Linked DNA regions of Homo sapiens: regions 1, 2, 4, 5, 6 and 7 are each linked to region 3. The links are contacts of gene promoters, found by promoter capture Hi-C in blood cells and fetal thymus (Javierre and others, 2016). All regions are on one chromosome and are shown on one strand. The core of a region is centred on a gene start or on the middle of the fragment in contact, and the rest is flanking DNA. Distances in the headings are between cores, read along the strand shown. Region 1 overlaps TRAK1 (trafficking kinesin protein 1). Region 2 overlaps TRAK1 (trafficking kinesin protein 1). Region 3 holds the start of ENTPD3-AS1 (ENTPD3, EIF1B and MYRIP antisense RNA 1). Region 4 overlaps TRAK1 (trafficking kinesin protein 1). Region 5 overlaps TRAK1 (trafficking kinesin protein 1). Region 6 has its middle 33 kb from the start of TRAK1. Region 7 overlaps TRAK1 (trafficking kinesin protein 1).

Evidence for each region. Contacts are between HindIII fragments. The CHiCAGO score rates a contact against its expected background, and 5 or more counts as called.
Region 1: a fragment that was not itself captured here is called in contact with the fragment with the promoter of ENTPD3-AS1 in region 3 in 1 of 17 cell types (naive CD8 T cells); the score reaches 8.9 in naive CD8 T cells.
Region 2: a fragment that was not itself captured here is called in contact with the fragment with the promoter of ENTPD3-AS1 in region 3 in 1 of 17 cell types (M0 macrophages); the score reaches 6.5 in M0 macrophages.
Region 4: a fragment that was not itself captured here is called in contact with the fragment with the promoter of ENTPD3-AS1 in region 3 in 1 of 17 cell types (naive CD4 T cells); the score reaches 5.1 in naive CD4 T cells.
Region 5: a contact is called between a fragment that was not itself captured here and the fragment with the promoter of ENTPD3-AS1 in region 3, in 2 of 17 cell types (M0 macrophages and monocytes). The highest score is 6.7, in M0 macrophages.
Region 6: a contact is called between a fragment that was not itself captured here and the fragment with the promoter of ENTPD3-AS1 in region 3, in 3 of 17 cell types (naive B cells, neutrophils and monocytes). The highest score is 8.4, in naive B cells.
Region 7: a contact is called between a fragment that was not itself captured here and the fragment with the promoter of ENTPD3-AS1 in region 3, in 2 of 17 cell types (M0 macrophages and total B cells). The highest score is 5.6, in M0 macrophages.

Annotation. Positions count from the first base shown.
Region 1 is chr3:42,212,741-42,216,528 of GRCh38, forward strand. All of the region lies in intron 14 of TRAK1 (trafficking kinesin protein 1), which reads left to right. Among named protein-coding and RNA genes, the nearest start is that of CCK, 52 kb to the right of the region's middle. RefSeq lists enhancers at 375-876, 1,833-1,942. The HindIII fragment of the contact is 3,789 bases long and covers 1-3,236 here.
Region 2 is chr3:42,118,227-42,121,810 of GRCh38, forward strand. The region is part of intron 1 of TRAK1 (trafficking kinesin protein 1); the gene reads left to right. Among named protein-coding and RNA genes, the nearest start is that of TRAK1, 29 kb to the left of the region's middle. RefSeq lists an enhancer at 886-975. The HindIII fragment of the contact is 5,871 bases long and covers 1-3,584 here.
Region 3 is chr3:40,452,058-40,455,728 of GRCh38, forward strand. ENTPD3-AS1 (ENTPD3, EIF1B and MYRIP antisense RNA 1) reads right to left here and starts at 1,251. Exons shown (of 4, transcript NR_040100.1): 1 at 1,065-1,251. RefSeq lists enhancers at 985-1,054, 1,075-1,144. The HindIII fragment of the contact is 7,917 bases long and covers 57-3,671 here.
Region 4 is chr3:42,094,232-42,097,598 of GRCh38, forward strand. The region is part of intron 1 of TRAK1 (trafficking kinesin protein 1); the gene reads left to right. Among named protein-coding and RNA genes, the nearest start is that of TRAK1, 4.6 kb to the left of the region's middle. RefSeq lists an enhancer at 755-1,054. The HindIII fragment of the contact is 3,051 bases long and covers 1-2,829 here.
Region 5 is chr3:42,172,688-42,176,335 of GRCh38, forward strand. All of the region lies in intron 2 of TRAK1 (trafficking kinesin protein 1), which reads left to right. Among named protein-coding and RNA genes, the nearest start is that of TRAK1, 83 kb to the left of the region's middle. The HindIII fragment of the contact is 1,558 bases long and covers 1,567-3,124 here.
Region 6 is chr3:42,056,045-42,059,767 of GRCh38, forward strand. It overlaps a transcript of TRAK1 not described here. Among named protein-coding and RNA genes, the nearest start is that of TRAK1, 33 kb to the right of the region's middle. RefSeq lists an enhancer at 1,479-1,588. The HindIII fragment of the contact is 4,315 bases long and covers 1-3,616 here.
Region 7 is chr3:42,195,807-42,199,542 of GRCh38, forward strand. TRAK1 (trafficking kinesin protein 1) reads left to right here. Exons shown (of 16, transcript NM_001042646.3): 11 at 3,371-3,447. Among named protein-coding and RNA genes, the nearest start is that of CCK, 69 kb to the right of the region's middle. RefSeq lists enhancers at 142-251, 332-461. The HindIII fragment of the contact is 4,138 bases long and covers 1-3,736 here.

The DNA of each region.
Region 1 (3,788 bases), core at 92-2,591, 1.8 Mb after region 3:
TTTGTGTGGGGAAGAGCCTGCATGTGGCAAAGGATTAAGAGTTAAAGTCACACAGTTAAATTGGTAGTTGGCTAGTGGATGGGCAGTTCAGTTGAATTATCTTGAATGCTTTGATCCTTAAAGGTGAGAAAGAAGTAGGATTCAAGCCACATGGATAGAGAAAATTGACAGTCAGTTTATTTTAATGCTTTTACTCATCAAGACTGGTTCATATTGAGGGGAGATATCCTCAAAAACTTACACGAATCATGGCATCTTGACATCTTACCTGGCAGTGGCCCTGCAGTAGAACCATGTCCTAATTGGAGCTGAGATTTTTTTTTTTTTTTTTTTTTTGAGACGGAGTCTTGCTCTGTTGCCTAGGCTGGAGGGCAGTGGTGCAATCTCGGCTCACTGCAACTTCCACCTCCCGGTTCAAGTGCTTTTCCTGCCTCAGCCTCCCAAGTAGCTGGGACTATAGGCACACGTCACCATTCCAGCTAATTTTTTGTATTTTTGTAGAGACAGGCTTTCACCCTGTTAACCAGGCTGGTCTCGAATTCCTGGCTTCAAGTGATCTGACCGCCTCGACCTCCCAAAGTGCTGGGATTCCTGGTGTGAGCCACCACATCTGGCCTAGAGCTGAGATCTTAAAGTCAGAATGGAAGACAAAAAACACACTTGGCTAAAATTGCCCTTAAAAAATTCCCTAAATCTCCAGCAACTGGGCCACCAAGGCGAAAGCCAGGAATCAGCTTCTTTCGTTGCCTCCTTGTTTGATACATAGGCCCAAGGTCAGGAGCAGTGACTGAGTGAGGAAAGGGCAGAGAAGGGCTTGTGGTGAGAAGGAGCCAGGCGGAGTCAGGCCAGCTGGGTGTTCCTGCAGCTTTGCCCGGGCGGGGCAGCTAGAGCAAAGCTCAGCCAGCTTGTATCCTGTCCCCTCTTCAGTACACCACAGACCACAGAACTGGGGTTCAGACAGGCTTGTGAGAAGTTGGTTTGGGGGCTTGATGGGTCTGGAAGGAAAAGTCTGGTATGCTCGATTCACAGACCCTTGGGTGCAGGCAAGTTCCTTCCCATTGTCTACACTGAGAGAGTTGATGTGAGTTCCCATGCTGTTGGGAACACTTCGATTCAGCCTGGTTTTATGGCAGTTATGAGGGAGTTTTGTTGTTATGGACAGAGTGGATAGTTGGCTCACACCCACCTGTATTAGGAGATGCTAAGGAAAGCCCTGTGCTCTGCCGTCAGAATATATATTAAGCCAGAGTAAAACAGGCCAACTGCCACCTGCAAGTGGAAAAATGAATGAAGAATGAAAGAATTGACTCCTTCAAAACAAACAGCATAGAGTCAACCCTGCTTAAAATATCCAGAACAAAGCCCACTTGTTGAGCATTTTCTCTCTGGTATCCTCACCTCTGAACACTACAGAGGGCCCCCTGGTGCTCCTAGAGGCACGTGGGTTGCTGAGGAGGTGTCTGAACCTGACACCCTTCTAATGTGGAGGGCCCTTGAGGGAGCACCCTGTGTTGAGAGGAGGAGCTGTGCAACCACACTGCCTAGTGAAGCACAGGTGAAGTGCTCTCTTGTGCTGGCCTTGAACGCACTAGTGGGGAAAGGTCTTGATGCAGCTCAGCCAGGCCAGCTCCCTTCACCTGTTGGTGTCTGCCACAGAAGGAAGGACAAGAGGACAGAGGGTATAGGGACCAGCTTTGTTGGTGTCTGAAGACTACAAAGGGATTTCTGCATTTGCCCTTTGGACGTTTTAATAGCATTCTAAAAATCCCCCTCTCTCTAGAAGATACCCCAGGGGCACTTGAGAGAATTTCTGACCCTCTCTGCACAATGCTGTGAAATTGTTTATCTCTTAAATCACATACTTTTCAGATGAAACAGGGTAGGCAACTTGGTGTAGTGGGAAGAAGAGTCGACTTTTAATTTTGCAGAAACCAAAAATAAGTTGTGCAGAAACCAGAAAAAGATCTTGTGATGTGTGGTTCGAAATCTCTGTGATAGAAACCTCCCAGGTTCCTGCTGGCCAGATGTCTGATCACCGAGGAGCTCAGGGACCTCTACGGAGCTGCAGGGGCAGTCGAGAGCTCTGTTGAAGAAATGCTTAAGCAGAGAAAAAAATAAATACCAAGCCTCTGTGAAGCCCAGAACTAAGGCCTTTAAAAGTGTTATCTTGTACAACATATTACAGTTTAAAATCACTTTTGTATTTTTTAAAACAAGAAAGTTGCACTGTTGCATCTGAAACTGCTCTTGATTCCCCGACTCCTCACCTCCAGAGAAAACACTTGTTAAAGCCACATGAATCCCTAACATAGTACTTGTATTAATGATGACTCGTAGGGCAAACTATTTATGCAGCTTTTCCCACGTGAACTCATCATAGAACTTTTTTTCCCCCTGAAAATATCATGGGCAGAGTTACATAATGAAGAGACAGGAAAGTCTTTAGAGCATCTTCCATGCCCTGATATTTTAGTCTTTTAGGAAGAGATAAAGCATTGCTTCTTCCCTATCTGTTTAATGGAAAGGGAACTGTTTCTCATGCAGCTGACAGGCAAAGACACATCTTCCTCTCCCCTTTCCACCCCTCAAGCAAAAGGCAACAAAGTCATTAGAAGCTGGGCATTAAACAACTAAAATATACTGATATTCCTAGGGGATAGTCCAAGACACACCCTTAAGCTGGATGGACAATGGCTTTTATTTTCAATAGATTTGTTTTTACTTGGATTGAACAGGCTGGCCTGTGGGTGCCACTGTTGGGGTGTGTGTGTGTGTGTGTGTGTGTACTGGTTGAGGAGTTTATAGAACTTGCAAAGCAGATCCAAGTCATGTGACAGCAGCATCCCACTACATGCTTAAGTCAAGGAAAGAAAGGTCAGGGTCATAGGGTTTATTTTACACAAGTCGGCCACTTCCCAAGAGTGGCAAAAAGAACATGGAAGGCCCTCAGTGCATCCCAAAGGTGGAGTCCCTTTTCCAAGATTTTGAGATGCTTTTGTAAATTTACATTTATAGAAGTTATTTATGTGAGTTTTTAAAATAGCTTGGGTGTGTGGCATGGCCAGTGTTTCTCCGTTCTCAGAGGCTTCCTTGGAAGCAGCTGTATCTGGGTGTATATTGCACCCTCAATTTCCCCATAGCAACATGCCAAGTACGGTTGCATTTTCCAATGTCTCTGGGCTCATGTGAGGGTTCTTTTAAGGACTAGGTTCTATGATGGCCTTTAGAGAGAAGAAAGCTTCTGTTGTCCCCAGCACTTCCCAGGGATGCGGGAAGGAAAACGCCATTAGAAGGGAAGAAAATGCATGAGCAGGTGTGTACAAATTGTATTATGGGCGGCCAGACGGGCAGAGTTCCAATCATCCTGCAAATCCCTGTGGAACCTCTGGGCCCCACCGGAGTGTCCCAGCCTCTTCTGTGTCCCCTTCTCCTCACTGTGAAAGCACTGGGCCATGGGAAGCAGTGGGCTTCCTACGTATTTTCCCTGGGAGGCCCGAGCAGCAGCCACCCTGCTCTATATAGTGCAGTCTGAGGGGCATCCAGGGAGTAGGGGCCGTGTCAGGGCTCCCTCCTCACTGGCTGCAGCAGAAGGATCCCAACCACCCAGTTTTTCAGTCAGTCCCAGGCATCATGGGCCCCCGAGGAGCATGGGCACTCAGTGCCACTTACCAAGCATACCTACTCCAGGCAGAAGGCTCACCAGAGTCCAACTAGAGAGAGCAGGTGAGGTCTCACTCTGTAAGAGTGAAAGTAAGAGTGGTTCTCACTCTTGCAAAGTCCTCTGATGT
Region 2 (3,584 bases), core at 644-3,143, 1.7 Mb after region 3:
GGCGTCCACCATCACGCCCATCTAATTTTTTTTTTTTGTATTTTTAGTAGAAACGGAGTTTCACCATGTTGGCCAGGCTGGTTTTGAACTCCTGACCTCAAGTGATCTGCCCGCCTCGGCCTCCCAAAGTGCTGGGATTATAGGTGTGAGCCACTGCGCCCCGCTGAGATCTGTATTTACATGAGGTTCTCTGAGTGTTAAATGTTGGACACTAATTTAGAGCTATTGCCTTTGCTGTAAAATGTAAGCATTGCCTCAGGCACCTGGCAGGTTTTGTGAAGCTGGCATGTCACCTGAGAATCAGTGCAAATCCCTAGACGGAGGAGTCTCCTCCTAGCCGCTCTCTGCAGGTGAGGATCTAGCCCCAGTCAGGTGGAGAATGGACACAGCTGCTTCTGCAGCTCTGCACCTTCCAGGTGCCAAGCAGGCTCCAGCACACTTTCTTCACTCCCTGGTGGCCCTAACTGAAGCCCACATCCTGGGTAGGAGGGTCCATTCCAAATCTTACGCCTTGGGAAAAACCTAGGAAGGGTTATACCTCTGAAGAGGTAAAGAGTCCTTTTAGGTTATTTTACTTTCAAAGTGATGTCATAAGAATGGTAGGTATTGGATTGACATCTGCTGAGCAATTGAGGGGACATTTACCATCCCATGGGACTTTCCTCTATGCTGGATAAAGACCTAGGGTGATACTGAGGTGGGTTTGAAAAGACCTTGACACTAGATGGCTCCACCTGCCTCATGTTGCAGGCTGGGCATGTGTCTGTCCTGGACAGGCAGGGGATTCACAGACTAGTCCTGCCACCGGCTGCTGCTCTCTCCTTCCCTTGTTCCATCACTCTTCTCACACTTACTGTTGCCTGGCAAAGTAGTAAGGGCTGGGCTGAAGGTAAGGTGGATAATTCAAAGCCTTTTCTCTTGAGGGGCTCACAATTAGTAGGGAAGAGCCACAGAGAATACACTTCTAACATCGTAGTGAAGTCATTTATGTACTGAGAACTGTGGAAGCCAGAGAAGAGAGGTTAAGGGAGGCTTTGCAATAGAGAGTGACATTTGAATGATATTTTAAGATGGAGTTTGCTAGGCAGTGAAGGGCATTCTAGGGAGCTAAAACAGCTGGTCTAAAAACTCAGATTTGTGAAAAAAATGTGTTTGGAAAATGGTGAGAAGTTGGTATGCCTTAAGTGAAGGGAAATTGGAGAAAATAGCAGAGGCTGGGCTTGATAAGAAAGGCTGTTAGGGTGTTGAGTTAGCTGCTTTAACAGAGACCAAAGTAATTGGAACTGTAGCCTCAATAAGGTAGTTGTTTATTTCTTTTACTTTTAAAAGTTCAAGTGGAAGGAGGTCCAGGGTGTTTCAGGCAGCTGAGGTAGCTCTGGTCATTTCCTGGGCATTGCCTTTACTAATTTAGCTAAGCATGGCTCCAGCACCAGGCCAACTCTGCAACTGGACAGACGGAAAGGGCATGACTTGGAAGTTCTGTTACATCCTGTTAACCAGGCATGTGGATACACCTTACTGCAGGGAAAGCTGGGAAACACAGTTTTTAGCTGGTTGGCCGTGGGCCCAGCCACATCTTGGGGGTTGCATGACCAAAAGGAAGAAGTGGCAATTGCATACTGGGAAACACTCAGTAGCCTCTCCTGTAGAAACGTAGAGGCAGAATGATGAAGCACTTTATAGGGAGCTGGGAGGTTTTTAAAGAGCAATAGTATGATTTAAAAAGCTCTTTGAGAGAATGAGATGGGAGGGTCATTTGAGGTCAGGAGTTCGAGACTAGCCTGGTCACCACAGTGAGATTCCATCTCTATTTAAAACAAAAAATAAAAAAATAAATAAATAAAAAGCTCTTTTCCAGAAATGGCACCAGCCACAATGTGGCCGGCCACCATGGGGCATTACAGTAACTGGGCAAGGAGGCGATGCCGAGGGGTAAGCCTCTCCTTATGGTTGAGCCTGGCCTTTTGATGGTTTGACAGGCTGGGGGTTGGTGGGATTTTGGGCTGTTGTTATTGCATATCTACCTGAAGCCATGGACCTTTGGGCTTTGGGATTGGTCAGGAAATTGATGCCCTTCATTTGTGACTTATTTGAGAACACATTTTGACTTGTTTACATTAGCTTGTTACTAATGTGAATTGTAACTGTGGGGAAATGGTGACCACAGAGAGCATAAAGGGTTCCTTTCCTCCATGGTGGGCCGGCAGTGTCCATTCACAGCAGGAGCTTGAATAAGCTCCTGTCCTGTGCAGGTTCCTGACCCTCCGTGGTTCTGCAGACAAGTTAGTAAATTCTTGCCTCTGCTTCCTGTGCTTTTTTTTGTTTTGTTTTGTTTGAGATGGAGTCTCGCTCTGTCACCAGGCTGGAGTGCAGTGGTGTGATCTCAGCTCACTGCAACCTGACCTCCGCCTCCCAGGTTCAAGTGATTCTCCTGCCTTAGCCTCCCAAGTAGCTGGGTTTACAGGCGCATGCCACCACACCCACCTAATTTTTGTATTTTTAGTACAGACGGGGTTTCAACAAGTTGGCCAGGGTGGTCTCGATCTCTTGACCTCGTGTTCCGCCCACCTCAGCCTCCCAAAGTGCTGGGATTATAGGCGTGAGCCACCGCGCCCGGCTACTGCTTCCTGTGCTTTAAAGGGGAAAATTATTCCAACACCTCCCTAATTTGTGATTATGTTTCATTTTACATGCCTACCACAAGTATGAAGTCTTCCACCTGTTTAGAACAAAAACTTCCTGATGATGACATCCTGGGAATTCCCCAGCATTTCAAGTGCACCCTCCTAGGAGCTGGGTAGCAGGTGTTGGAGGGGAGATCACAGCTTTTAGTGGAACAGCTGAGGCTGCTCCTACCTGATCTGCTGCTTAGTTAGCTGAATCAACTTGACCAACAAGATGTGCCGCAGCCCTCGTGCATCCCAGCTTACTGATCTGTAATAACAGGCAAATCTCTGTGTGCCACATTGCTGGGACGGTGAGACAATGGTCTGGCTTGATGTTTGGCATGGTGAAAGCATTCCTGGGGAATTCTTTTTTTTTTTTTTTTTTGAGACGGAGTCTTGCTGTGTCCCCCAGGCTGGAGTGCAGTGGCGCAGTCTCGGCTCACTGCAAGCTCCGCCTCCGGGGTTCACACCATTCTCCTGCCTCAGCCTCCCTAGTAGCTGGGACTACAGGCGCCCACCACTGCGCCTGGCTAATTTTTTGTATTTTTAGTAGAAACAGGGTTTCACCATGTTAGCCAGGATGGTCTCGATCTCCTGACCTCGTGATCCGCCCGCCTTGGCCTCCCAAAGTGCTGGGATTACAGGCGTGAGCCACTGCGCCTGGCCTCCTGGGGAATTCTTGAAGACTCTTCTGTTACGTTTACCTGATGTCAGGCCTTGGATGTGTCCTCCCCTTGAGGCAAACATGGTGTCTCCTTCCATAGGGGGTCTGTGGGGCTTTTGGCCTTGTGGCCAAGGTTAAGGAGAGCTGCACGGGCCATCTCCATAATCCTATCCCATGTCCTAATTCTTTGGGCCTTTAAAGCATCTGAAAATTTGCTGCTAATGTTTATAAGGCTGGTCATGTCACAGAAAAAT
Region 3 (3,671 bases), core at 1-2,500:
ACCTAAGTCACTTTAACACAGAGATACAGCTTCAATTTACAAGCAGCCAGTTGCAAAGCTTCAGAAAAGGTTTTCAAAAAAACAGGACAATGGGTCCACTCTGCAGTCTAGGCCTGATGTTGACCCTTTTTCACAGTCCTGCTTTGTTTTGAGGCTATTAAAACCCTGCTTCATTTAAGTTCCATCTAAACTTTACACTTCCTCAAAATCCTGTAACTTTATATTTTCCTTCCCCTGGTAAAATGTCCCATGGTGTCTCTGGTGTGCAATCTCCCTCATTAAAAAAGATCGATAGACCTGGTTTTGCTGACTACAGGTTTGTCCCTGGTGGTCTTAGGCTGACTGGGCTTGAACAGTCTTGCTCAGCTTCAGGGTTCCTAAGATTGCAAATTTCAAAAACTGATACAACAAACATTTTTTCACTCCTAAATACAAATGCACCTGTCCACGTTGCCAGGTAGTTATGCACATGGCTACCATGTCAATTTGGTCATAACTAGGGTTAGGTCACTTCTCTGGAAGGTTAGTTATTAAGAACAAGAAAGAAAGTCAGGGTTCTGCACAGCTTTTGGTTTGATTCTTGTACTGACTTATGTTTCTTTTTCTTTGGGGCTACAGGTAAATATTTTGTCTGCTAAACTGACGCCCCCATCGCCAGTGTCTGAACAAACAAAACTGAGACATATCTAGTCAGCTGAAGCTGACAAATACAGGGGCCAATCTGGTTACAGGCAGGCAGTCCTGGCCTCGTGACACCGCAGAGACTGTGGGACAAGTGGACGTGCTCCTACTGTCCCTCGCATCCCCCATCTGGGCCGCGGGACTAGTGCCCTCAGGTCTATGACCCACTGCAAGAACCCAAAGCTCGACGCCCGCCCAGCCCTTCACATCCGTCCCTTGCAACAAGCAAGAGAAGAGGGGCGCGGCTTCAGGGGACGGGCGACGGTTTACAGGACAGCTCGTACACAGTACCAGCTGACATCCCCTAAGCCTGAGTGTCTAGGCCCCTGCCTCCACATTTAAGAGCCGACTGCGCCCCTTGGTGATTGGACGTCCGGACGCACCTTGAGTAGAGGCCAAGCAAACTATCGAGCCCGTCCAAAACGCCATATTTGTAACTGACGTCATCCTCATGTTGCCTTTCCTCTCTGTGATTGAGGAACCAATCAGTTGGGTGTAGCAGACGGGGCGTGGCTCTTCAGGTAGAGGCCGAAGGGGCTGAGAGCGGTCCCAGGCGGCCATCTTGATTCCTGGCATCACTCTCAACGTGCCCTCCCTCTCCGTGATTGGACGAGCAGGGCGGGCCTTCCGGAGGCACACAGCCGACCAACCAGAGATCTGCGCGTGCTCGATCTGGTCATCTGTTTTCTGACATCTGGAGCCACTAGCAGTTATCCTGTTCATTCCTGGGCGCCTGCGACCTTCCGAAGGAAACAAGACTTGCTTGGGGAAAGTTGCCTTGCCAGTATAGTGGAGCTTGGTAGAAACTTAAAAACTGCCTGGGGCTGCCTGGGATGGGGATCTCGAGATGCTTGTGGGGAGCACATTTTAGGAAACAGGGGGCTCAAGCTGCATGAAATGCTGCGGGAAATAGGAATGAGAGACGCAGAATGGTCGGAGAAAAAAGCTAGGAAGGTGTTTGGGAGTAAGATTTTGGAGTGCCTTGAATGCCAGACTAGGGAGTTTGGACTATATCCTGTAAGATAGGGGATAAAAATCAACTTTAAACAGGAGTGATATAACAAGATAATGTACTTTAGAAAATAATTCTGTAACTGTAGGGGGAGTCCCAAAGTGTTTCTCAAATTGTGTTCGGGGAAGTTCAAAGTGTGTTTGAGAGCTTGTTTTTATATGCAGATTCTTGCCCCTCACCAGACCTGCAAATAAAGTTCTCTGGTTGTACAGCCAGGAAACTGCATTAAAAAAAAACTTTTTAGGTTAACATACATTTGGTGAGAAAACGCATAAACCATATGGATAGGGCTCTGAATTTTCACAAGCAAACACTTCAGCCAGGCGGGGTGGCCCGTGCCCCTAATCCCAGCTACTCGGGAGGCTTAGGCAGGAGAATGGCTTGAGGCCAGGAGTACCAGATCAGCCTGGGCAACATAGCAAGACCCGTCTCTAAAAAAATTTAAAACAAAAATAATAACACACTCCCGTAGTTAACACCAGATGAAGAAACAACATGGCCAGCAGCTCAGAAGCTCCCCTTTTCCCCTTTAGCCACTGCTGCCTGCACCAAAGGTAAATATGATCATTACTTATAAGAACTGTAGATTAGTTTTGCCTGTTTTGAATTTGATATAAATAAAAGCATACAGGATATATTGTGTCAGCTTATTTGTTAGTGTTATTTATGAAATTCATCCGCATTGTTCCATGTAGTTGCTGTAGACTCCGTTGCTATAGATTGTTATCACAATTTATCCAGTCTCTTGTTTATGGGCCTTTGGGTAATTTCCAGTTTGGAGATAGTAGCAAAAAAAATGCTAAAATGAACATTCTTCTTCATTCATATCTTTTGCTTTGTAAATTATAAAGCAAGACAACAAGACCTAAAGACTGATTCATTCACTACCTATTTATTGAGCCCCTTACCAGACTAAGGTGAGAAAATAAAACAGAAAAGACAGCAAAGGTCCTGCCCTCATGGAACTTATTCTAACTGGAACGAAACAACACCTACGTGGGCAGCAAAACAAGTCAAACAATTGCAATTGTGATAACTCTGAGGGAAACAAGGTGAGCTAGAAAAAGAAGGGTGGGGACTTAACCTTTTTTTATGTGGTAGCCTGGTTAACTCTCAGAAAAATATCTAGGAAAAAATACAAGAGATAAGTTGGCACTGCTACACGATGAGTATTAACAATGGGTAGACCATTCCTGGCAAGAGAGACACCATGTATAAAGGTCATGGAGGAGGAGAGAGCTTGGCCCATTCAAGACCAGTGTGGCTTCAACACAATGAAGGAGGGATGGCATAAGGTGTATCTGGGTATTAAAGCATATGATACAAGGCCAGAGTAAGAAGTTGAGATTTTATTCCAAATATTATGAAAAGCAATCGAACTGTTAAAAACAGGAAATAATGTGATCTGATTTACTTACTTAAAAGATCCCTCTAACTGCTGAGCAGAGAACAGATTAAAGACAGAATTTAGGAGGCTGCTAGAGCAGTCTCAGGGAAGATATGCTGGCATAGAGCTTAGAGGAAAGGCTTGAAATACATCTGGGAACTGTCATGGCAAAGATCATCACCTTAATCAAGTGATAAAAGGTAACACCTCTCTGCACTGGCCTGGGTAAAAATCTAAAGAATAAAATACCACCACAATATTGGGAACCCATGTGTGGTGGTGTATTCCTGTAGTCCCAACTATTCTGGAGGCTGAAGCAGAACTGCTTGAGCCCATGAGTTCAAGGCTGTAGCAGGCTACAATCAGACCTGTGAATAGCTACTGCACTCCAGCCTGGGCAACACAGCCAGACCCCATCTCTTCGAAAAAATGTATATGTGTGTGGCCAAGCACAGTGGCTCACGTTTGTAATCCTAGCACTTCTGGGAGGCTGAGGCAAGTGAATCACAAGGTCAGGAGTTCAAGACTAGCCTGGCCAAAATGGTGAAACCCTGTCTCTACTTAAAACACAAAAATTAGCCGGGCGTGGTG
Region 4 (3,367 bases), core at 54-2,553, 1.6 Mb after region 3:
GCTGGGTTGGTGTGTGAGTCTGGGACTCATGGCCCCAGGGGGAACTTTGGAGTCAGAAACTTCTCTGTTTTCACTGAGCCCTGATCTCTCATAAACACTGAAAAACTTGAGCAAGTCAGGCTGAAACTATCAGGAGCTGAAACTTTATTTTACTTTTAGAGTCAGAGTCTCACTCTGTCACATAGGCTGGAGTGCAGTGGTGCAGTGCAGTCATGGTGTATTGCAATCTTGAACTCCTGGGCTCAAGTGACTCTCCCACGTCCACCTCCCAAGTAGCTGCGACTATGGGCTGGAGCCACCGTGCCTGGCTATTTTTTTTTGGTAGCAGTGGGATCTTGCTGTGTTGACCAGGCTGGTCTTGAACTTCTGGCCTCAAGTGATCCTACCACCTTAGCTTTCCAAAGTGTTGGAATTATAGGTATGAGCCCCAGTGCCCGGCAAAGGTGTAACTTTATAACTAGATCTGGAAGAAATATAATGTTATAAATCCTGTTCTAGGTTTCTCTAGAGAAACAGAGCCAATAGGAGAAACATATATCGAAATGTATTACAAGGAATTGTGTTACTTGATGGTGGAGGCTGACAAGTCCAAGATGTGCAGTTGGCAAGCTGGAGGCCTGGGAGACCCAATGGTATAGTTGCAGTCCAAAGGCTTGACAGGATTGAGGCCCGGGAACTGGTGTTCCAGTCCTGAAGACCCTGGGGGTGGGTCAGCCTGTTTGCTCTATTCAGACCCCAGCTGACTGGATGAGGTCCACTTCACTCACAGTAAGGAGGCATCTGTTTTACTCAGCCTGCTTATTCATGTTCATCTCACCCAGAAACACTACCACAGACACATTCAGAATCATTCTTGACCAAATTTCTGGCCACCCCATGGCCCAGTCAAGGAGACACATATTATACAGTTAGCCTTCACAGATCCTAATGGTGCTGCCATTTACTGAGGAGTAGCTCTGTGCCTGGCAGGTTTCCAAGTGTGGCTCCTGGAACTCATGTTGTCCTCAGCACAGCTCTGAGGTGGGTACTGTTACCACCTTCACGTTTGAGGAGGCACAGAGTAGGCAGCTTAACCTCTTGTATAAAATAGGGATCCTTGAGGTTTAGACCCGGCAGCATTGTTTTCTGACCCTCTTTAAGTTACTGTTCTTCATTTTTTTTCTGTTTTACTAATTTCATTTACTGTTAAATGGGGTTTTAAATTATGAAAATAACACATGCACGTGGTAAAACTTGAAAGTGTACCAAAATATAGTCAGTGCAGAGCAGCTCTCACTCTACCATCAGTGCAGTTTAATGGGTAAAAAAATCATTCCAAGAAGTTTTTATGCACATATTCATTTTCTAAAAAACACAGATGGGACCATATCCTATTCCTTGATCTGCATTGTAAGATGATTAACCATATTACTTAAAATGAATTCACATACTATTACCTTATTCTTTAAAATAGCGACATGATATCCCATTGTTTGGCTTTATCATCGTCATCATCATCATCATCATCATCATCATCAGTCATTTAATTAAACCAGGCTGTGGTCTGAATATTTGTCTCCCCAAAATGAGTATGTTGAAACCTAATCAGCAGTGCAATGGTATCAGGTGGTGGAGCCTCTGGGAGGTGGTTAGGTCACAGGGGCAGAGCCCTGATGAGTGGATTAGTGGCCTTATAAAAGAGGTTTTGGAGAGCTAGCTAGCCTGTTCTACCCTGTGAGGACAGAGTGAGAAGGTGCCATCCGTGAACCAGGAACCAAGCCCTTACCAGACATTTGGTGGTGCCTTTATCTTGGACTTGTCAGTCCCCAAAGCTGGGAGAAATAAATGTTTGTTGTTGACAAGCCACCAGTTTATGGTATTTTGCTCTAGCAGCCTGAACAGGCTAGGAAAACTCAGCAGCTCTCAGTCCTGGAATACCTAATATTTCTTTTTAGAAGAAGCATTTTGTAATTCATTTTTTTGTTACCCTTAAATGAAATTCATAGATAACGAATCCTCTTAAAAACATAATTTTATTTATTTTATTTCTATCTTTTTTTGAGATGGAGTCTTGCTCTGTTGCTCAGGCTGGAGTGTAGTAGTGTGATCTCAGCTCACTGCAACCTCTGCCTCCCGGGTTCAAGTGATTCTCCTGCCTCAGCCTCCTGAGTAGCTGGGACTATAGATGTGTGCCACTACACTCGGCTAGTTTTTTGTGTTTTTAGTAGAGATGGGGATTCGCCATGTTGGCCAGGCTGGTCTCGAACTCGTGTCCTCAAGTGATCTGCCCGCCTCGACCTCCCAAAGTGCTGGGATTACAGGCGTGAGCCACCGCGCATGGCCAAACACATAATTTTAAAAGAATCAGTATAATGCCTTACCGTACTATAAAGGAGAAACTAAAGAAAAATGACATAGCTTGTATTTCAAATGTCGCTGAGGGGACGTGGCCTCATTAGAACACATAATGAGCAATTAGGCCCTGCCCCTGCAGGTAGAATTGCTGTGAAGGGGGCAGCCACAAAGGCAGTGAAGCATGCTGGCTACTCAAGGGTCCAAGACAGAACCACTGCAGCAGCCCCCATTGATGGGTGCTGTAAGTTGTTTTCAGTTCTTGCATTTTAAATGGTGCCTCAAGCACCATTCCTACTCACTCTTAGAAGCATTGGCTTAAACAGTGTGCAACAAGAAAAATGCATACAGTTTAAAGAATACACTTTGAGGTTTTCCACCTTCATCTTATTCCCAGACCTCTGCCTTTCCTCCCAAGGGAATGACTGTTGCTTATCTTTCCAAAAATGTTCTGTGCATGCGTTTGTATGGTATGTATGTCCCCTCCCCTGCTTTGAAAGCTTTCTACACACGGGAACATATACTAAACATATTGTTGCCTTTTCTCCTCAGTAATCTATATTGGAGACCTTTCCACTTAGCATACATCCATCATATTCTTTTTGCTGGCTGCCTATTTTTCATTGTCTATAAATCCCACGATTGATTTAATTAATTCCCTATTGTAAGACAAGTAGATTGTTTCCAGTATTCTGCAAATACCACTGGGTTGGGGATAGCCATGTTCCCACATATTTAAACAAATAAGTAATGAATGTACTTGTGTGAATTCCTAGGCTGGGGACTGTAATTTGATGGAGTGAGTCATAGAGGTTGTATATGGTGTGTGTTCAGACGATGTGGGAGAAGTGTGTGGGCGCTCACTGTCTGCACCCCTGGTATGAGCACATTTGCTCTTTGCCAGCTGAGGTGTATAAACGGCAGCAGCCCCTGATCTTGATTTACGTTCCTCAGTGTGTAGAGGCTGAGCATTTTCGGTATTTCCTGGAGGAATTTTTATTGTCTTTTCTGTGATCTGAGATAAATGCTTAACAGT
Region 5 (3,648 bases), core at 1,096-3,595, 1.7 Mb after region 3:
CAGGAGGGCAGGTGTCCTGCCTTGTTCAGTGCAGAGCTTGGTGCGTGGTAATGGTTGTTTGGTGTTAGTCAGAGGTGAGGCGTGTGTATTTTACTATGGTGGGTAGGCAGCAAGTTGCATTTAACTTCTTTTTCTAGGAGATGGACCATAATTTTCTTATATTAAATTATCATAGAGACTGAGCACGGTGGGTCATGCCTGTAATGCCAGCACTTTGGGAGGCCGAGGCAGGTGGATCACCTGAGGTCAGGAGTTCGAGACCAGCCTGGCCAACCTGGTGAAACCCCATCTCTACTAAAAATACACTAATTAGCTGGGCATAGTGGCAGGCACCTGTAATCCCAGCTACTTGGGAGGCTGAGGTGGGAGAATCGCTTGAACCAGGGAGGCCGAGGTTGCAGTGAGCCAAGATTGCGCCATGGTACTCCAGCCTGGGCGACAGAGCGAGACTCTGTCTCTAACAAAAGAAAAAAAAATTATCGTAGAGGTTTATGGTGGCTCCTTTATTTTGCTTTTCTTTCTTTTTTGAAACATCTTTTGGGTGGAAGTGGATTTATTTGGTAGCACTCCTTGGGTCAGAAATGGAACTTCTCTTTGAAATACATTCTTATAGAGAGAGAAACTTGACCACGGTTGATTGAAGATTTAGTGCCTAGGAAGTTGGTATTTGAAAAGCATAACCTGTGTTTATGCTGTCTGAAGGCATGGTTTATTATTTTTTCACCTTCATTGGTCTCACTCTTGCTTCCTTATTTCTTGGAACAGGAAATCTAAAACCTAGAAGTTAGTTGGTGGCTGCTCAGAGCCCCTTGGCTTGGATAGAGTCTCCTGAGAAAACCTAAGCCTCTGAACCCAAGGTCAGGGTTCTTTCTTTCCCCTAGGCCCAAATGCTGCTCGCTCTGTTTACACACTTCCTACACATCGATGGTTTGTGCCTTGCTCTCGTGTCCTTTATGGTCTTCCGTTTTAGTACAGGAGCCAGACTGGCCTCGGTGCAGTCTCTGCAATGCAGCCTCATTCTCTGTGACCTCAGTGGGGTCCTTAACATCCAGATTCTTAATGTCTCAGAGCCTCAGTTTTCTTATCTGTGGAGTAGTCATCGCGACTACCCTGCAGGGTTGTTGTGAAGATTAATTGAGAAAGCATGTTAAATCCCTTGACATGATAGGGGCACCATCGGTGTTAGCTGCTACCTCTACCGAGAGTCTGTTATTTTGACATTTGCCACCTGCTAGCTGTGTGACATTGGGTGAGTTATTCAGCGTCTCTGGGCCTTAGTTTTCTGTTGTAAAATGGTGTTAATATAAGTGCTTACCCCTTATAGTATTGCTCTGAAGATTACATAAAATAATCCATATAGAGGGTTATGAATGGTGCCTGGCCATGGTCACTGTGCTTAGTAAAGGTCAGCTCACTGCAACCTCCACCTCCCGGGTCCAAGCAATTCTCCTGCCTCAGCCTCCCAAGTTAGGATTACAGGCATCTGCCACCACGGCTGGCTAATTTTTGTGTTTTTAGTAGAGACAGGTGTGCATTTTATTGGGTTCAATTTTTAAAATATTTTAAAGCTTTATAAAATAGCAACACAAGGGGTCCTTGTAAGTGGTAGATACATGAACCAACACAGGTAATAAAATTACATAGAGCTTAATACACACATGTGCACACAAATAAGTGCAAGTAAAACGGGAACTCTGAGGAAAAGTTATGGATTGTATCAGTGCTGATATCCTGGTTGGGATATTATGATCTTGCAGAATGTTACCATTGGGGGAACTGGATAAAGGGTATACAGGATCCCTCTGTATTATTTCTTCAAGATGGAGTCCTGCCCTGCTGCCCAGGCTGGAGTGCAGTGGCACGACTTCTGCCTCCCGGGTTCAAGTGATTCTCCTGCCTCAGCCTCCCGAGTAGCTGGGACTACAGGTGTGTGCCACCACACCTGGCTAATTTTTGTGTGTATATATATATATACACACAAAATTTTTATATATATGCAAAATTATATATATACAAAAATATATATAAAATTTTATATATATACAAAAATTTTTTTTTTAGTGGAGACAGGGTTTTGCCATGTTGCCCAGGCTAGTCTCGAATTTCTAACCTCAAGTGGTCCATCTGCCTTGGCCTCGCAAAGTGCTGGGATAACAGCCATTAGCCACCTCACCCGGCCCCCTCTGTGTTATTTCTTCTGTCTGCTTGTGGTTATCTACACATGACTGACTATCTGAATAATTACAGTTACCTTAATTCAAAAACTTAGCCTTAAAAATTTGAGTATTATCTCTAAATAATATAGTGTTAGAGAAATAGCAGCTCTGAATCTTCTTGTACAGATAATAGAGCCAGGTTAGTTAAAAGGTAGCCCAGTTTTCTTTTTTTCCAGGAAGGCAGAGGACTCAGTTTTTTGAGGAGAGTGGGCGCCGGTGAGTGGGGATAAGCAGGCCCTCAAGTGACAACACAAATTTAAACACAGAGACCACTTAGTTGCTGTGGTCTGTTACCTGGTGTATAAAGGGTGCTGCAGATGCTTTGGCGTGCTGGCTGGGGGGCCCCAGGGTTTGTATCTGCACGCCTGCAGACCATCACAGCTGTGCGTGAAGAAGACTAACTCGGGTTGGTAGCATAGGAGTCTTCACTTAAGCACTTGTGTGACCTCGAGCTGATGGACTATCTAGAGCAATTTGAGCTGGACTTCATCTACATCAAATTAGATCCTGGTTTAAAGCTACCCTTATAAATCTCCCTTGCTTCTCCCTCCCTGGCAGCTCTGTCTGAGGCAGCATATTTCCCCCCACGCTTGGACAGGAGGGATCTCATGAAAGTGTTGGGTGGAGGGGTCTTGTCTGCTGGCTCTGGTGGCACTGTCTTGGTAGGGTTTCAGATTTAGAACCAGATTTCAGGTCTCCTCCCTAAGTTAGAAAATCATTCCAACAGATCCGATTTCTCTGAGCTAATTTACTAGGATGATCTCTACTTGCATTTAATAAAATATTCAGAGACCTATTGAATTCCAGTTGCTGTTTGCCATTTGTAATGCTGCTGAGTTTGACTTAGTAATACACTTCAATTCCCAAATGTGTCGCATGGGCTGTTACTGAATGTGGGTCATTAGGAAAGCTTTGACTCTTAACAGAATTATTCACTGAAGTCTTAGTTACAAAACATTACTAAGAAGTTATTTATTTAGTCCCAAAGTGACAGGTTTCAAAAAATTTTGCACGTTGGCTGGCCATAAATCCATTTATATTCACTCCTCCCCCAATAGAATAAAACTTACGCTACCTTCTTGGTGTTTGTTGAGCGGCGAATCAGTTCCTTGTCACTGATTTAAAATAAAACAACCCTGATGTATCTTTAGCAGACAAAAGCGTTCTTTTGTTTCACAACCCATTTCTCCAACGGAAGAAGAACAAAGACCCATAGTCCTAAAGTGCTTGTGTGCAGCCTTGTATGACCACAGTAAATTGTACATGTAATGAAATATTACTCTGTGTGTGTGTGTGTGCAATCATAGTAGTCTTTTTAATGTATATTTAAAAAATAACAACCTAGTTTTCATGGTATGGAGCTGGTTGCATAACCTTAGAATGTAGGCCACTTGAGGAGGAGGGGGCTATGCCATTATGAAATTATCAGTTT
Region 6 (3,723 bases), core at 209-2,708, 1.6 Mb after region 3:
TGTTATGTATTTTTAATATTTAGTTTATCCTTTCATTAGTTGGTAAACTTTTGGATTATTTCCACTTTTTGGCTATTGTGAATAATGTTGCTGTGAACATCTGTAGACTTTTTTTTATTGTGGACATTTGTTTTCATTTCTTTATGTTGATACCTATGAGAGGAATTGCTAGATCATGTGGTAACTCTGTATTTAACATTTTGATAAATTGCCAGACTGTTTTCCAAAGTGGCTGCGCTATTTTACATTCCCACCAGCAGTGAGTGAGGGTTCTGGTTTGTCCATGTCCTTGCCAATGCTTGTTATTATCTGTCTTTTTGATTATAGAAATCCTTGTGGGTATGAAGTGGTATCTCATTATGGTTTTGATTTGCATTTTCCTGATGGTTAATGATGTTGAGCATTTTTTCATGTGCTTGTTGACTTTTGAAATTATTATTGAAATAATTATTGGATAACAGATGTTAAAAACATTTCAACAGAAGCAGAAATATTTTATATAATTGATTTTAAAATTATATTGAGCAAAGTTATTAGCTGATTATTAAAGAGATTATTTTACCCTGGAGAATTATTAGAAATTTTGAAATTAAAAACATTCTTTTGTTTACCCAGAAATCTAGAAGAAAGGTTAAAATTTCCACTTTTTAATATTGTCCCAAGTGCAACATAAAAGTATGCATTTTTCATATCTTAACCTTTAAATGTATGCCATGTTAGGATACAATATTGAGTGCTTGTATATTTTTGAATTCACAGTCCTTTTTTCTGCCCCGATTGTAATAATAGGCTATTCTACATCCTTCTTAATACCTTTTAGCTCAACATTTCTATTTCCAATATTAGGATTTTAAAAATAAAAATCTTGTGTGAGAGACAAAGTAAAGTACCAAAATTGCCTCAGTTAGAGGAGCCAGTTTTCTGTGGATTTGAACCAACCTGTAACCTGAGCCGTGCACAGCTGCCATGAATAGAACAGGGACCTGGTGAAGGGCACCTTCTGCCACTTTGGCCGATTGAGATCCAGCAACCTCCTGGCTGGCAGTGATCATGAAGATGGGAACTAGGACACTGGTGCATTTTAAGGTGCAGTAATTAAAGGCACTCTAAATTACTCTTTGCTGTTTAGACCACCTGGGCTGTCCAGTGCTACTTTGGATACCAAGGAAAATGGAATATTCTTATGTAAATATGGATGGACCATGAGCTCCTGGAGGGCTGGAATCCAGTTTTGTGCAATTGTTTTCTCCACAAAGACTGACAGTAGGTTCACGGTCCTGCTTCTTGAATGAAGGAAGAAGGGAAGGAATGAAGGGTGAATGATGGGAGTAACAGAAATTGATTGCCAATTCACATCCATCTCTGCCACACTTTCTTCTTTCCTAATAGAATCCAGATTTCATTCCATTCTTAAGCCTCCTTTGCAGCATGCTGGAGTAGGGGTTGAGGAGGCGTCCAGTGGGTATTGATTGGTCCAGGCCAATCACAGTGGCCCCATTCCCTTTGCTGTAGTTGTGACTGGGCCGATTGGGATCAGAACAAGTGGGCTGCAGTTTCCTGGGGAGGTTTTGTTATGTTTGCTGGTGATGCTGTATCTGCTGCTCTCATCTTGTGATCTGAGGAGAACCTGCTGGAAGGCGAGCACTGACCTGCTGTGTGTGGCCAAGCAGAAAGGGAGCAGACGAACTTAGATTCTGGGGTTGGCTCTGTCTCATTTGCATCTTGGGCAGGCCACATGTCTCTCCTCCATCAAGTGTCCTGTAACCTGGAGAACTCACCCTGGTTCACCTGACACGTGGCCCACACCATGTTAATCAGTTTGTGCTTTTATTCTTAAGTATTTGAAGGAACCAGAAAATACAACCAACTGAAAGGCGTTTTCATTTTAAATGCCTGTAAACCTGAACATGTCATTCAGTGAGCTTCCTTGTAAAGCTGAACTCAAATATCATTTCCTCCTTTACTGCTACCCAGGTTTGCCCTTCGCCCCTTGGTTGGGTTATTTTTGCCACCTTTAAGCTCTTCTGGTTTGGCTGCTGCTTCTCTTACTGCTCTGCCACAGTGGGCATTTCATTGGGAAGTGAGACTTGTGGCCGGCTTCTGGGTAAAATACTCCTTGGAACCTCCTCATCTTTAAAATATAGATAATACTCATGTACCTTGGCAGTTGTGGAGATTGACGAAGACAAGGTTTGTTTGTAAGTATGCTTTTGCCTTTAAATTTCATTTTATCATGTTCATCTTTATTATGATAACTGAGGACTGGAGGGAACCTTTATTTTTAAATTTAATTTAATTTATTTATTTTTTGAGACAGAGTCTCACTCTTGTTGCCCAGGCTGGAGTGCAGTGGTGTGATCTCAGCTCACTGCAACCTCTGCCTCCCGGGTTCAAGCAATTCTCCTGCCTCAGCCTCCCCAGTAGCTGGGATTACAGGCGCCCCCGCCACAACGCCCAGCTTATTTTTTAATGTATTTTTGGTAGAGACGAGGTTTCACCATGTTGGCTGGTCTGGTCTTGAACACCTGACCTTGGACGATCTGCCTGCCTCGGCCTCTCAAAGTGCTGGGATTACAGGCATGAGCCACCATGCCTGGCCTGGAGGGAACCTTTAAAGTCAACCTGTCCTACCTCCTGGCTGATGCAGGGATCTCCCTTTAATGTCCATTGTGGGCCTTGCCCATTGTTTGGTGGCCCATTTGAATTGTTGCGCTGAGCTCCCACCCCCACACACAACAGATCGTAAGATACGCCATTGCTTTATGTACCTCTAAGAAAGCAAAAAATGCTACAAAGTAAGCATAGTAAAGGACGATTGGCTATAAGACAAAATTCAATTTTAGAGATATTGAAATGTGAAAAAATGTGTATCTTAAGAGATTTACTCTTTACCATCTGCTCTGTGCTGCAATTTTTTTAAAGATAAAGTGCTAATTTACTGAATTTAAAATAAATCCAGGTGTGTATGCATGCGTGTATATATTTGTATGTATATGTATACACACAAATATACATACGTATGATATAAGTAGGCTTTGGACTTCAGGGAACTTTTTTTTTTTCCTTTTGAGACAGGGTCTTGTTCTGTTGCCCAGGCTGGAGTGCAGTGGTGCGATCATGGCTTGCCGTAGCCTCAACCTCCCAGGCTCAAGTGAATCTCCCCCTCAGCTTCCTGAGTAGCTGGGACTATAGGCATGCACCACTATGTCTGGCTAATTTTAAAAAATTTTTATTAGAGACGAGGCCTCTTTGTGTTGCCCAGGCTGGGACTTCAGGGCCCTGTCAAGTGTGCTTCTGTGTGTATACAGATTTTGAGATTCCCATCCCTGCTCTCCACTCCAGGATAGGACCTGAGTTAACCATATTTTAGAAAGATAATGACTTGTCTTCATCAGTTATCTTTTTGATAGTCTTTATGAATTCTAATAAAATTTTCAAAACAGTGGCTAAAAGAGAACTGTGGCCTGTTTCTCCCTGTGCCTATCAGCAGGCCTCGGGGATTTCCTTTCTTCCTCGTGGACACTTCTGTGCATTTTCCTACAAGAATATACGTGACAGGTCATGTATAGTTTTCCTTCATATTTGTGTTCTATTAAAAAAATCATCCAACTCAGAAAGCTTTTTATTTTCCAGAAAAAAATTTAAAAGTGACTTATTTCAGAGTATTTTTATTCTTCTACAGAGAGACAGCTAGCTGTGATGGAGGCTCTTCTAGGCAGGATA
Region 7 (3,736 bases), core at 735-3,234, 1.7 Mb after region 3:
CCAGGAATCTCAGTAAAAGCAGCAAAGAATATTCAGTCCCCCAAGTTCCCTGATCTAGCGCTAACCACACTTGGCTCACACGCTGGCCTGTGTAGCTTTGCAGGCTCCTTACCTGGGTTCCCTCCTTCCTGGCTTGTCATCTTGGTGCAGTGAGCTCCTGGCGCTGTCTTGTTTCCTGGGCACCCAGGATCCACTCCACTGCCTTCCCCACTCTCAAGGGCAGACCTCTCTTTGAAAACTGAACTATTGTGTGAGAAAAGTCGAATTGAAATTTGCATTTCAGTTTCTTTTTGAGGGATTCTCAGCTTTCATATTTGCTGAGGTAAAGTTTTTGTTTGCCTTTTTCTGTAGCTCTTGGCACAGCCCAGTTTTTGAAGATGGCTATTTTTAAAGTGTATTATGCATTAAAGGTATTTAAAGCAGTCTAAAGATTGCATCATGCAGAACGCCCAGATCTGCCTCTTTTGCTCCTAGCCATTCTAATCGCTGAATAAAACAGTGAGTAGCAGTTTTTGCACAACTATGTTCCCAATTCTCTTGCCCAATGGCAGGAGTTCATCTGGGATCCACAGACGAAATTTGGGGGGGGCCTGTGAAATTAGTTCCTAATTGTACTCAATATTTCCTTCCTGTATGAAGGTCACCAGGTCACAGTGATATTAGCACTGCTTGTGACTTTGTCATCATTAGAAATCACAGGTATTTTTATGGCACATTTCTTTTTCTCTTCTTCTTTTTTTTTTTTTTTTGAGACGGAGTCTTGCTCTGTCATCCAGGCTGGAGTGCAGTGGTGCGATCTTGGCTCACTGCAACCTCCCTCTCCTGAGTTCAAGCGATTCTCCTGCCTCAACCTCCCAAGTAGCTGGGACTACAGGCATGTGCCACCACGCCCGGCTAATTTTTTTTTTTTTTTGTATTTTTAGTAGAGATGGGGTTTCACCATGTTGGCCAAGCTGGTCTCGAATTCCTTACCTCAGGTGATCCACCCGTCTCGGCCTCCCAAAGTGCTAGGATTACAGGCATGAGCCGCCGCGCCTGGCCCTATGGCACATTTCAGTTGTTACAGCTGCCTCACAACACCACAGATGCTGATCTCCACTTCAAAATGACAGCAGTAACCAGTCCTGAACTAATTTCTCTCTCCTTTCTCCTCTCTCTCTCTCTCTCTCTTTCTCTTTCTCTCTCTCTCTCTCTCTCACACACACACACACACACACACACACACACACACACGTTGTTATATTGATACATATCTGCCTTCTTTTATAATCATAATTTTATTTGCCTAAAAATATTATTCCAGGAAGGAGTCCACAGACTTGCCTGGATTGCCAGAGGGGAGAGGGTCATGGCCAAAAACAAGTCACAGAGCCTGCATGTGACTTTTTCTCAGTATGGCTTTGAAATTACAGTCATCCCTGAGTATCTGAGGGGGATTGGTTCCAGGACCCCCTGCAGATACCAAATCCTTCAATGCCTAAGTCTCTGATATAAAAGGGCATAGTGTTTGCTTATAACCTATGCATGCCCTTCCACATACAAAAAGATCATCTCTAGATTGCTGGTAATACCTCATACAATGTAAATGCCATGTAAGGAGTTGTTATACTGTACCGATTTTTAAATTTGTATTATTTTTTGTTTTTTTTCCCCCCAAATTTTCTATCTAAGATTAGTTGAATCTGAAGAAGTGGAACCCACAGATACGGAGGGCTGACTGTAGTAATTTGACACTTCATTTTTCTTAAGGTGTATGAAGGTCCTTTCTTCTCTATTTGTAAATTATGTGGTGAATAACAGTATTAAAAAATAAGCTGGCTTAAAAGATGTCAGACTCACCTAGGGAAGTCCTTACTGGACATAACGTTTAATGGCAATCTGTGGGTAATAATTACAAAATAAAATGCATATTTGTGAACAAGGACTGAAAAAAGCCTGCTAGCCCTTTATTCATCTCACTTCCTGCTGACTCCTGTGGAGTCTCCCCGCTTGGTTCCAGCCTCCAGACCGGAGCATCCGCATGGACCATGAAGCTGCTGAGGTGGATGCCCTGGAGTCCCCAGGCGGTATCTGCTGGGAAGCCACTGGCCACATGTGGCTGTGCAAATTTAAATCAATTAAGTTAAAATATAATTACGAATTCAGGTCCTCAGTCACAAGCCACATTTCTTGTGCTCACTAGCCACCCCTGGCTGGTGGTTTCCACATGTACATATGTCCCAGCACAGAGGATGCGTCCATCATCACAGGTTGTTCTGTTGTTTAACATGAATTTAGCCTTTCCCTTCAGGTTATCCTCCATGGATATCCTCCTCTGGTGCTGAACTGGTGCTTTTCTGCACACACTTGGTCCTGTGGGTATCTACCATGTGTAAAGGATTGTGTGTTAGGCTCCACCTCCTACAGTGCTGAGTGATGGGTGGTACAGGAGAGGGGACATCCATCTGGCAGCCTTTAATGTTGAGTCTCAGCTTGAGGCCTGGCCCATTGGTGAAGTGAGAAGCCATCAGTGACTAGCCTTCCCCTGACCCACAAAGCTGGAGAGAGAAACATGTGAGCTGTTGAGAAGAGTGGCAAAGACTTACTGTGTTTGGTGTCTGCTTCAGAAAAAAATGTGAGATTCCTAGTGGAAACAGGAATCCTACATTTCCTGGGCAGGTTGTTTAAAGGTGGGTGGGCCATGGATAGTTGGCGGTGAGAGGAACTTCCCTTGCAGGAGGCCAGGGAGGATGAGAGCAGGGACCTAGAGATGGCAGTGCGTGTGACTCACGTCACGTCTGTAGAGACCCTCTCACTAGCACAGAACCAGAGTGCCCTTTGGAGGTGGGAAAGGCTTCCCCAGGAGCCGAAGTTGGAGGCCCTTGGTCTATTCTTGGTGTCAGAATCTTAGACACAGAGGGGGTGTGACAGACCCTGTAGACTAGGGGGACAATAGCTTTGTGTGGCTTGTATGGGCTCTGTTGCCATATCTCACTGTAAGCTCAGAGGTATTTGGAAATTCACCTGTCTCCATCATTCTGAACACATCACCCCTCCCTCATAAGTTCTGCATCCCATCTCGTAGCCATGGTTACAGCTCCATGGTTTGGCCAACGGAGCATAGGGTTTGCTTTTAGACACCTAATGGCATATGAGTCAGCAGCTTTACACTCAGTGCCCAGTGGCACTGCCACACTCAGAACCTGCCTGGGAAACTGCTCAGCCAGGGTCTCTGACAACAGAGAGTGCTGTTAAGTTTGTGTTGTGGGAAGACCGTGAGCTTCTGATGCCTTGGTTTACTCTCCATGGCCCACCTGGGTGCATACCTCTTTTAGAGACAGAGCATTTGAATTGGCGCTCACTTGACATTTGTCTTTCTGGCTTTTCCCAGGATTCCTTGGCAGCAGAGATTGAGGGAACGATGCGCAAGGAGCTGCAGTTGGAAGAGGCCGAGTCTCCAGACATCACGTACGGCCACAGTTTTTACAGTTTTGAGATTCCCAGAGACCAACTTGGACCAGTGCAGTGTTCAAAACCTAGCAATGTTGAGGCTCTGGGTACCGACAGTGATTGACTATTGTCCTTCCCAGTCCAGATTAAGGGAAATAATAGAACACAGCTGACAGCATCCCTCAGCTCCTCTTATTATCTTTTGTTAGTGTTAATTTTTATTTATTTATTTTTTAGAGATGGGGTGTCTCACTTTATTGGGCACGCCAGAGTGCAGTGGTGTGATCATAGCTCACTGCAGCCTCGA